Linked DNA regions of Homo sapiens: region 1 is linked to region 2. Evidence: promoter capture Hi-C in 16 types of primary human blood cells and fetal thymus (Javierre and others, 2016). All regions are on one chromosome and are shown on one strand. Each heading gives the region's core, a stretch centred on a gene start or on the middle of the fragment in contact. The rest is flanking DNA. Distances are from core to core; before and after follow the strand shown. Region 1 overlaps LOC105371399 (a long non-coding RNA gene). Region 2 holds the start of ZFPM1 (zinc finger protein, FOG family member 1).

Evidence for each region. The method cuts DNA at HindIII sites, captures the fragments that hold promoters and counts their contacts. A CHiCAGO score of 5 or more calls a contact.
Region 1: a contact is called between a fragment that was not itself captured here and the fragment with the promoter of ZFPM1 in region 2, in 1 of 17 cell types (activated CD4 T cells). The highest score is 5.2, in activated CD4 T cells.

What each region holds. Positions count from the first base shown.
Region 1 is chr16:87,767,520-87,772,596 of GRCh38, reverse strand. All of the region lies in intron 1 of LOC105371399 (a long non-coding RNA gene), which reads right to left. All of the region lies in intron 3 of LOC102724467 (a long non-coding RNA gene), which reads left to right. Among named protein-coding and RNA genes, the nearest start is that of KLHDC4, 4.1 kb to the right of the region's middle. The HindIII fragment of the contact is 483 bases long and covers 2,973-3,455 here.
Region 2 is chr16:88,451,160-88,456,808 of GRCh38, reverse strand. It overlaps ZFPM1 (zinc finger protein, FOG family member 1), which reads right to left and starts at 3,529. Exons shown (of 10, transcript NM_153813.3): 1 at 3,131-3,529. The coding sequence starts at 3,170. RefSeq lists enhancers at 325-454, 485-534 and silencers at 785-844, 2,525-2,594, 2,815-2,944, 3,405-3,494, 3,505-3,804 and 1 more. The HindIII fragment of the contact is 8,831 bases long and covers 1-5,649 here.

The DNA.
Region 1 (5,077 bases), core at 1,965-4,464, 680 kb after region 2:
CCAAGTCAGACCTTAATGGAAAGTAGCAACAAAAACAGGCCACTGGGCTCTGAGACAGCTTTTAGTTTCACGCATGAGCCGATCTTGCCATACTTACCTTTGGTTTTGACAGCCTCCAAGGGCAAGAAAAACATAATCAAATCCAAGGGTGTCCAAGGTGGGATCTAAGAGAGAACTCCCCAGATTAAGCCAAGATTTCAAGAGTTCTGCCCCAAAAGGGTAAGATTGAAGCAGGCCTCACCCTACCCCCATGACCTAAGGAACCACAGAAATCAGCTCAATGCTATGGGAGACGATCTCACAGCCTGGCCAATTTTTATATTTTTAGTAGTGATGGGGTTTTGCCATGTTGGCCAGGCTGGTCTTGAACTCCTGACCTCAGGTGATCTACTCACTTCAGACTTCCAAAGTGCTGGGATTACAGGTGGGAGCCACTGTCCCTGGCTGTAGGATTCCATTTTGTAAAACCCTAGAAAAATGGAAACTAATCAAGAGTTTCTTTTTATTTTATTTATTTATTTATTTATTTATTTATTTATTTGAGCCTGAGTCTCGCTCTGTCACCCAGGTGATCTCGGTGCGATCTCAGCTCACTGCAACTTCCATCTCGCGGGTTCAAGTGATTCTCCTGCCTCAGCCTCCCGAGTAGCTGGGATTACAGGTGTGTGCCACCACGCCCAGCTAATTTTTGTGTTTGTAGTAGAGACGGGTTTCACCATATTGGCAAGGCTTGTCTTGAACTCCTGACCTCAAATGATCTGCCCACCTTGGCCTCCCAAGGTGCTAGGATTACAGGTGTGAGCCATCATGCCCAGCCACATTTCTTTTTTTTTTTTTTTTTTTTTTTTTTGAGACGGAGTCTCACTCTGTTGCCCAGGTTGGAGTGCAGTGGCACAGTCTTGGCTCACTACAACCTCTGCCTCCCAGGTTCAAGCAGTTCTCCTGCCTCAGCCTCCCGAGTAGCTGGGATTACAGGCATATGTCACCACGTCCAGCTAACTTTTGTATTTTTAGTAGAGATGGGGTTTCACCATGTTGGCCAGGCTGGTCTTGAACTCCTGATCTCAAATGATCCACCCACCTTGACCTCCCAAAGTGTTGGAATTACAGGCATGAGCCACCGCGCCTGGCCACATTTCTCTTTTTAATAAAACCCCCAACCTTCTCTTTGTTCTTTGGACATATTGAAGTTCACCCCAGCCTGTGGATATGCCTCAAAATATAATTCTATGATTCCCATACAAGGTGTTTTGTTTAGAGATCCATCTCTATATTTTTATTTGACCTTGATAGTATTTTTTTTTTTTTTGAGATGGAATCTCACTCTGTCGCCCAGGCTGGGGTGCAGTGGCGCGATCTCAGCTCACTGCAAGCTCTGCCTCCCGGGTTCACGCCATTCTCCTGCCTCAGCCTCTCCAGCAGCTGGGACTACAGGCACATGCCGCCACGCCTGGCTAATTTTTCTATTTTTAGTAGAGACGGGGTTTCACTGTGTTAGCGAGGATGGTCTCGATCTCCCGATCTTGTGATCTGCCTGCCTCGGCCTCCCAAAGTGCTGAGATTACAGGCGTGAGCCACTGTGCCTGGCCAGACCTTGATAGTATTAATACATATTAAATTCTACACTTTAATTTATTGTTTTAATTAGAAGAACATCACTTATTGCTTTATGCTATGACACTGGAAAATCGGCCGGGCGCGGTGGCTCATATCTGTAATCCCAGCACTTTGGGAGGCTGAGGCGGGCGGATCACGAGGTCAGGAGATCGAGACCATCCTGGCTAACATGGTGAAACCCCGTCTCTACTAAAAATACAAAAAAAAATTAGCCGGGCATGGTGGCGGGCGCCTGTTTTCCCAACTACTTGGAAGGCTGAGGCAGGAGAATGGCGTGAACCCGGAAGGCGGAGCTTGCAGTGAGCCGAGATAGCGCCACTGCCCTCCAGCCTGGGAGACAGAGTGAGACTCCGTCTCAAAAAAAAAAAAAAAAAAAAAGAAAAAAAATTGGACAATCTTGATGAAGAAGACGGGACACATGTTTCCAGGTTTCCAATTTGGAACTTCAAGGCTGACAAATTCCATACTCATTTCTCATCATCCCTTGAGGCCCCTCCTGAGTGGGTGGCCCTTCTCATAGGGCAGGGGACAACTGTAGATCCCTCTTGCTCCTCAGCAGCCACCTGCCTCACCCCAGCCACCTGTGCACACTTGAAATATATACAGTTTATTGTATATAAGCAACACATAGATAAATCCCTGATTATAGTTGGAAATCTTATTATTCCTCTCTCTGGAATGGATTCAAAGAAGTGGGAAAAATTCAGTAAGGCCAGCATGGTGGCTCACGCCTGTAATCCCAGCACTTTAAGATGCCCAGTCGGGTGGATCACGTGAGGTCAGGAGTTTGAGACCAGCTTGGCCTACATGGTGAAACCTTGTCTCTATAAAACATACAAAAATTAGCTGGGTGTGGTGGCAGATGCCTGTAATCCCAGCTACCTGGGAGGCTGAGGTAAGAACTTGGGAGCCGGAGGTTGCAGTGAGCTGAGATAGTGCCACTGCACTCCAGCCTGGGTGACAGAGTGAGACTCTGTCTCAAAAAAAAAAAAAAAAAGCCTTTGTGTTTTGCTTTTTTACTTCCCTAAGCTTTATTTTATTTATTTTTAATTTTTATTTTTTGAGACGGAGTCTCACTCTGTCGCCCAGGCTGGAGTGCAATGGTGCGATCTTGGCTCACTGCAAGCTCCGCCTCCCGGGTTCACGCCATTCTCCTGCCTCAGCTTCCCGAGTACTGGGACTACAGGCGCCCGCCACCGCGCCCGGCTAATTTTTTGTATTTTTAGTAGAGACGGGGTTTCACCGTGTTAGCCAGGATGGTCTTGATCTCCTGACCTCGTGATCCACCCGCCTCAGCCTCCCAAAGTGCTGGGATTACAGGCGTGAGCCACCGCGCCTGGCCTCTTTCCTAAGCTTTATTATTGTTTCACTTGATTTTCCCAAGAATCCTGTGTAATAGGTGAACTAGTTCATTATTCCCACTTTCCTGCTGGGAAACGTGCAAAGAGCCACGTAATCCATACCACACTTGGCAGAACCTTCCAATCACATTGATTACTTGTGGTGAGGATAATTAGAAGTTAGCATATTTTCCTAAAATTTAATCTATTATTAATAGATTTTTTTTCTCTTCTGCACTTCAACTTGAAGGCAGCAGAGGGCGCCTGATCACACAAAAGATACACTCTAAAAGTCAGCGACAGATTAAAGATAATCCATGAAAGTTTCAACAATGTGAATTTTACTAAAATAGAGCCTTGTACTTAATCTTTTGACTATTTTAGGATCTGATCTCATTTTAGATGTTCTATTCCGTCTTTCTCAGTATGAGAATTTCAGTCTCACGTAAATCACCATGACACCTATAATCCAAGAGCCTTCTAATTTAGCTTCAAGCTTCTTTCAGATAATAAAAGTATTAAACCCCGCATCCACCAGATCCTCCTAAATCTTCAATAGGTCATACGCTCTCCCTGTCTCCGGCCTGAAGTGGGCACCACTGTAATGTACTGCAGCCAGATGTGCTGTGAATGAAGAGCCTTTTGGCTTCAAGTGCATTGCCTCAGGTTTACCCAGGATTTTTAGAAAAATATTAAAGGATTACGTATGTTCTTAAAGTCATAGTACACTAGAGGGGACAGAACTATTTCCCGAGGGCAATAGTGAGGATTTAGCCTTTTGTAGTTCGTCATGGAAGATAAACATGCCTGGATGCCCAGGCTGGGTTTCTGTGAAATTCTCCAGCTCCTTTCTGCTCAGCTCCTAACCGGTTTTTTTTTTCTACCACCACATAGGTTTCCTACAAGCAGTGCTGGAGACCATGGTGGTCTTCAACCAGTGCTATCTTTTCTTCTCATTATTTCCCCAAATTTCATTTTTCTTCTTAAAGAGCTAGGTTTATGGATAAGGCTTGGAGTGGGTTGGAAAATCATTCCTCCTCAGCTGCTCAGTGACTAGTCATTGATTGGATCTAAGGTAACTTTTTTTGTTTTTGAGACAGAGTTTCGCTTTTGCTGCCCAGGCTGGAGTGCAATGGCGTGATCTGGGCTCACCGCAACCTTTCCTCCCGGTTCAAGCAATTCTCCTACCTCAGCCTCCTGAGTAGCTGGGATTAAAGGTGCACACCACCACACCTGGCTAATTTTTTTGTATTTTTGTAGAGACGGGGTTTCACCATGTTGGCCAGGCTGGTTTTGAACTCCTGACCTCGTGATCTGCCCACCTTGGCCTCCCAAAGTGCTGGGATTACAGATGTGAGCCACTACGCCTGGCCGAGTTAACTTCTTCTTTTTTTTTTTTTTTTTGAGACGGAGTCTAGCTCTGTTGCCCAGGCTGGAGTGCAGTGGTTCAGTCTCGGCTCACTGCAACCTCTGTCTCCCAGGCTCAAGCCATTCTCCTGACTCAGCCTCCCGAGTAGCTGGGATTACAGGTGCGCACCACCATGCCTGTCTAATTTTGTATTTTTAGTGGAGATGGGGTTTCACCATGTTGATCAGGCTGGTCTCAAACTCCTGACCTCAGGTGATCTGCCTGCCTCTGCCTCTCAAAGTGCTAGGATTACAGGCGTGAGCCATCACACCTGGCTGGATCTAAGATAACATCTTTTTTTTTTTTTTTTTTTGAGATGGAGTCTTGCTTTGTCGCCCAGGCTGGAGTGCAGTGGTGCAATCTCCGCTCACTGCAACCTCTGCCGCCTAGGTTCAAATGATTCTTTTGCCTCAGCCTCCTGAATAGTTGGGACTACAGGTGGGTGCCACCACACCTGGCTAATTTTTTTTTTTTTTTTTGTATTTTTAGTGGAGACAGGGTTTCACCATATTGGCCAGGCTGGTCTTGAACTCCTGACCTCGTGATCAGCCCGCTTCAGCCTCCCAAAGTGCTGGGATTACAGGAATGAACCACCACGCCTGGCCTAAGAGAACTTTTAAAGGCTGACTCACACACAAAGTAATAAACTAGATTATTTCCTGATTTATGCTTTCCCTTTGCCAAATTTTGGCTTGTCCTTGTCCTTAATTTG
Region 2 (5,649 bases), core at 2,280-4,779:
CCCACAGCCCTGGGGACCTATTCCTGATTCCATTTTTCAGAGTGGGAGACCAAGGACCTGACCAACTCCATCACTCCCGACCTCACTCGCACCTGCTGGCACAGGCTGGCCCCCCAGCCCCAGGCGCCTCTCAGCCCTTGCTCCCCCGACAGCAGTGGAAAACTGAGGCCAGCCCTACTGTGCCAAAGGTCACCCCCTTCCAAGAAGTGTCCCTGACCACCTGACGTGCCCCCTGCTCCCCTTGGCTGCCCCCTCTGCCCCTCTCGTTTGCCACTGGGACCCAGGGCCTGTATGCAGTAGTGCTCAGCAAACAGTGCTCAGCCCAGGCAGGTCTGCAGCGCCTCCACACCAGGGTACACTGGCCTCCCCCAAAGCAGTCTGGGCCATGGAAACCACCTTGATTTTTTTTTTTTCAAGAAAACTCCAAGCAGTGTACACTTGGTTCTTGCTAGGAACTACCAGCAACACCAGCATGATTCAAGGGGAAAACACCCTCTCTCCCTCTGGAGGTGACAAACCCACCTCTAGCGGTCTCGCACCATCTACGAGGACTCGGGGCGGGGTGTCCTCCCCCTTCCCCCTCCTGGCCGGGGCAAAGCCAGTTTTCTTTCATTTTGACGGACTGTACCACCGGCCACAGGGGAGGATCAACTTCTTGGCAATTAAGTGTGTTTGGGGAGAAAACTCCCCCAGACAGACCAGCGCAGGGACGCCGGCTCCCCGGCCCCAACCCGGGCCGTTCCAAGCCCCCACTCGCCCCAGTCGCGGCGCCCCCGCGCTGTTCTCCAACCCGGCCGGGCCTGGTGGCCAAAGATAAGGCCTCTTATCGCTCTTGGCGATCGCCATCGGGCCGACCGGCCAGGCTCTTATCGGAGCTCACATCGACTCGGGCGGGAGGAAAACCCAGCGGGCTGGGGGCGCCGGGGGTCCCGAGCTGCCCCGGCCCCGCGCTCCCCGTCGGCAGCCCGGCCTATCGCCTCCGCCATCTGGCCGGCCAAGGCCGCGCTCCCGCCTCGCCCTGCCCCCGCTCCCACGTTTGAAGTTAATAAATGGAAGCGCCTATCTCAGCCACCATCGGTTGCGCGCCTTATCAGCGCGGCACATCTATCTCCGCACGGAACAAAAGGCGCACAGAGGCGCGGGCAGCTGCGCCAGGGCTTTGATGGGGGCGCGGGTGGGGGGTGGGCGGCCCGAAGCGCTCGGCCCCCTCCGCTCTGCACTCGCGGCCCGGCCGCAGGTGAGGCCAGGGCAGCGGGCAGGCACAGGCGCTGGCAAGAGGGCGGGCGGGCGGGCGCCGCCGCTTGGTGACAATCAGCCTTCGCATCTTAACGTGCTGAGATCTGCCATGGGGAGGAGGCGCCCCGGGCCGCGAGCGACAGGGAGGGTCCGCGGCCCTGCCTTCCTCGTCCGGGCCCTTTCTCTGCCCCGGTCCCGGGCCGCAACGAGGATGGGCCGCGGTGGCTCACCGTGCACCCGCCGCGGTCCCAGTTCCCAAAGTGCGCGCGCTCTGCCCGCCCCGCTGGGCTGGGCTACGGGCTCTCGCTGGCGCTGGCGGCCTTATCAGCGCTGGAGATCGGTTTCCAACCTGCGATCTCCCTGTCCGAGCTATCTGCATTTCTCATCACAGTGAAACACCACACACACACACACACACACACACACACACACACACACACCCCAGAACCGAACATAGGCGCTCAGGGAAGGAAGGAAAAAGAAACCAGAGCACAAGCGCGGATCGGGACCTGTGGGTGGCTTTTAATACTTGAGTTGACACGATAGAAGGCGACTTTCGGAAAACAGGTCCCGTTTGCGCTGAGGGAGTTGGGTTACGGGAACCGGTTCATGCCTGTGACCCCCGCCTCGGGAGACCTCCTGAGTAGGGAAGCTCCCACAGGCCCCGCACAAGGGGTCCTGGTGGCAGTGGTCGTGTGGACAAAGGAGGTAGTGCCCGGGCGCCTACGGCTGGGCAGCGGGCGGGTTTCCGTCGTGGCCTCCTGGCAGGGCTCAGACGACCTGCCCGTCAGGCTCCGGGGAGGCGCCCCGGGGAGGAAGACCTGCGTCTGGGCCCTAACTGTGAGGCGCAAAGTTATTATTGGCATAGGGTGGGGAGGGTAGCTTCCTGTGCTCTTGCTCCCTCCTGGCACAGCCCAGAGGCCCAGGCCAGACAGTGGCCCCGACAGCTTAGTTCTCATCGCGGGGGCACTGGCAATGTGGCGGCGGGGCAGCAGCCTCTGACCGGGCAGGGAGCCGGACCAGCGAGAAACTTAGTGGCGTGCAGGGGCGACCCCGGCCCGGGGCTGCGTCCTGGGAGGCCCTTCTCTGACTCAGAGCAGCCCATTGGGATGCCAGGGGGTGCCCGCGGGCATCCGAGGGCACCATTTGTTGCCCATGCCGCCTTGGCTGGGACACTTGCAGGGTCCAGGAGGTGTCACCAGGCTGGCGGGGCCTGGGTTCAGGACTTCAGCGCTAGGGCACGGGGTGGGGGTGTCTGGGGGGCTGGAGCCAAGTGCCTAGGCTGCGGCAGCTGCGCGCTACCCCCTCCCCTGTCCTGCGGCTCTGCGACGGCACCGGTGGGGGTGGGCGCGGGCCGGTGCCTGCCACTTGGCCAGGCATCTCCGCGGCCCCGGGTGTCCCCTCTGCCTCCCAGGTCTCTCTCTTCGCTTCTAGATACAAAGCCTGGGAGAGTCAACCGCGCGAGATAAGATCACAATTTCAGCCCGTCCCGACAGAACGATCTTATCAGGACGGGACTTGCAGAATGTAATATTTTAAACTTTATCTGAGCCCAGATCGGGGCCGCCCTATCGCCGCACCATCTCGCAGATGCGGGGGAGGGGCAGGCCGCGAGGGGCCGAGCTGCCCGGGCCGCGCCCCCAAACACCCTCCTCCCGGCCTCCGGGCGGCCCCCTCCTGGGCTGAACCCCCCGGTGCCCAAGCCGAGACGCGGGGGCCCAGGCCGCCGGCGGAGATTAGATTACGGCGCGCTTGGCACAGCGCGGGGGGCGCGGCGCGGGGTGAAGGTCGCCGGCGCCCAGGGCAGAGCGGGGACGGGCGGGGGCGGCGCTGGCGGCTGGGCTCCGGCGGGGGTCGGGCGCGCGGAGGGGACCGCGGGCAAAGTTTGACTCACGCTTGATCTGCCGGGGGTTGCTCTGTTTCCGCCTGGACATGTCTCCGGCGCCGCGCGCCCTCCCGGCGGCCGCCTCTAGCCCCGGGCGGGCGGCGGCGGGCGGCGGGGGCGCGGCGGGGCCGCGGGGCCGCTCATGCCCCCGGCCCCCGGTCTCCGCGGCCGCCCCGGCCCGCGCCCCCAGCCCGCGCGCCCAGCCCCGGAGCCGCTGGAGCTGCCGCGGAGGCCCGAGAGGCCACGGTCCTGCGTTGCGGGCGCGCGGACTGCCCGACGGGCGGGTGCCGGCTCCTCCGCTCCCGCGCACTCGCCGCCGCCGCCGCGGCCGCTCGGCTTTTCTCAATGGAACCCGCGGGCGGCGAGCGGCGGAGCAGGCGGCCACTGCGAGGGCGCTCCTGGCGGGCTGGAGGCACGGGGCGGGGCCGGGCCTGAGCGTCGTCGGCCGCCGCACCTCCCGCCCCGCCCCCGGCGCTCCGGCCCCGCCCCGTGCCTCCTGCCGGGCCCTGCACCTCTCCGGCTCCGCCCCCAGCGCCGCGGCCACGCCCCCGCCAGCCCGGCTCTTCGTTGCTCTGGCTCCGCCCCCAGAGCCGCGACCGCGCCCCCGCCCGCCTCGCTCTTTACGGCGCTGGCTCCGACCCCAGCGCTGCGGCCCCGCCCCTGTCCGTCTGGGCCTTCAAGGCACTGTCCCCGCCCCGCTCGATGCCCCGCCCCTTCCTGGTTCGGCCCCGCCCGCGCCCCGGGGAGACCTCTAGCCTCCCCCACTCCTCTTTGGCCCGGAGGTCATGTCCCCAGGCCGCGCTGGGAGTCTGAGACCTATTCGGTTCTGTTCTGCTGCCCCGCGGCACCGCATCCTGCGCCCCGCCTCTCGGCGCCAGCTCCGCCTCCAAACCTGACCCGACCTGGTTGGGTCCTGAGACGCCGAGGCTCCGCCCCCGCACTGTAACTCCGCCCCCAGCCCTTGGTCCCTCCCTAGACCCCTGGGCTCTGCCGCACGCTCCACGTGCGCGGTGGGGGCAGTGACAACCGGCTCAGGAAGCCCGAGGCCTTGACGCCCACGTTTCTCTTGGGCCAGACTTGGGGTGTGGAGCGGATTCGGGCCAGGGAGGGGGCTTCCGTCCCAGACTGCGGTGGGGTCCGCCAACTGAGAGCAGGATCTCGGGTCTTCCCCTGTGAGCTCAGACCAGGCTGGAAATCGAGGAGGGGGCGCGGGAGCCGGCAGCCCTGGGCGTTGCCACTTGGGGCCTCTTTCCTCACCGAGCCTCTCCAGGGCGCCCCGCAGGAGACCCACGAAGGAGTTGCCCACAGCGCCCGGGCCACAGCCCCCTCTCGGAGCAGTCAGAGGTCAGCGAGGTTTGTGGGCGCGGTGCTGTCAGCTCAGGCCTGGAAATGGAGAACTGTTGCCCTCTGGGGTGTGTTCAAGAGCCCCACTTCACGGAGGCTCGGGGACTTGCTCAAGGTCACGCATTGGGGGGCTGTCCCCCACTCCCAGCTGAGTTGTATCATCTCCTTTTAATGTTCTCGGTCTACACTTGCTACCTGCTCCCCCATCCCCCGTACTCATAAGAAACGGGCGTCAGTGGGCCCAGGGGCAGACAGGAAGGACCCCTCCCACCTGATGATGAGATCATCGCACAGCAGGACTGTCACACCACCCGCCAGCCTGCTGGGAGCTCCTAAGACCCCATCTCGTGCCAACTTCTGTGACCTATTCCCTGGCTCCAAGGAAGGGGAGAAGTGGGGGCTTACCCTCAGAGCCTGGTACAGGAGAGTGGCGGGTGGGTAGGAGAGGCAGGGGTACAACACTGGATATGCGCCGTCCCTCCCCACTGCCATGGACAGACAGGAACACTGAGACCAGGAGGCCAAGAGAGCTGCCCAGGGGCATACGGGTCCTCCAGCCCTTCCTGCTCTCTGCCAGGGTCCAGTGGGCACAGCCTTCCCACAGCTGCTCTCTGGAGGGGGTGGGGCCCATGTCTGATTGGTTCACTCAACCTAGGACCTCCCCCCCACCCTCCCGCCCCCACCCAGTGCTTGTCAACTGGATGGAGCACCTACCTGTCTGGGTTTCCCACCAGGCCTCGCCTCCTTCCCCAAAGAAGTCCACTTTAGAGTATGTGGACCTGTGAGTTAGGGGAGTTCCTGGAGGAGGTGGCCATGGGCTGGCACCTGGGCTGGGTCTGAAGCTCCACGCACAGCAAGTGGCACCCAGGCTGGCGCTGCTGGAACGGGCGGAGATCTGTGTTGAGGTGGATTCCGAGGGTCAACAGGAGACAGCCATGATCATCCATGATTGATGTCTGTCTAGGCTGCAGGAGGAGACGATGGGGATCATTTTGGCTGCTGCTTTGCCTGATCTGATTTATTTCTATGAGCCCATATATAGATGAAAACATGGAGGGACATGCCCAGGGAAGCCAGCGAAGGGGGCAGGCGGCAGGTCCAGACCACAGCCTGCTGCCCTGCCTCCATCACTTGCAAGGCCCCATGCAAAATGAAAATATGAAAATGTGGAGCCCCCTTGATCA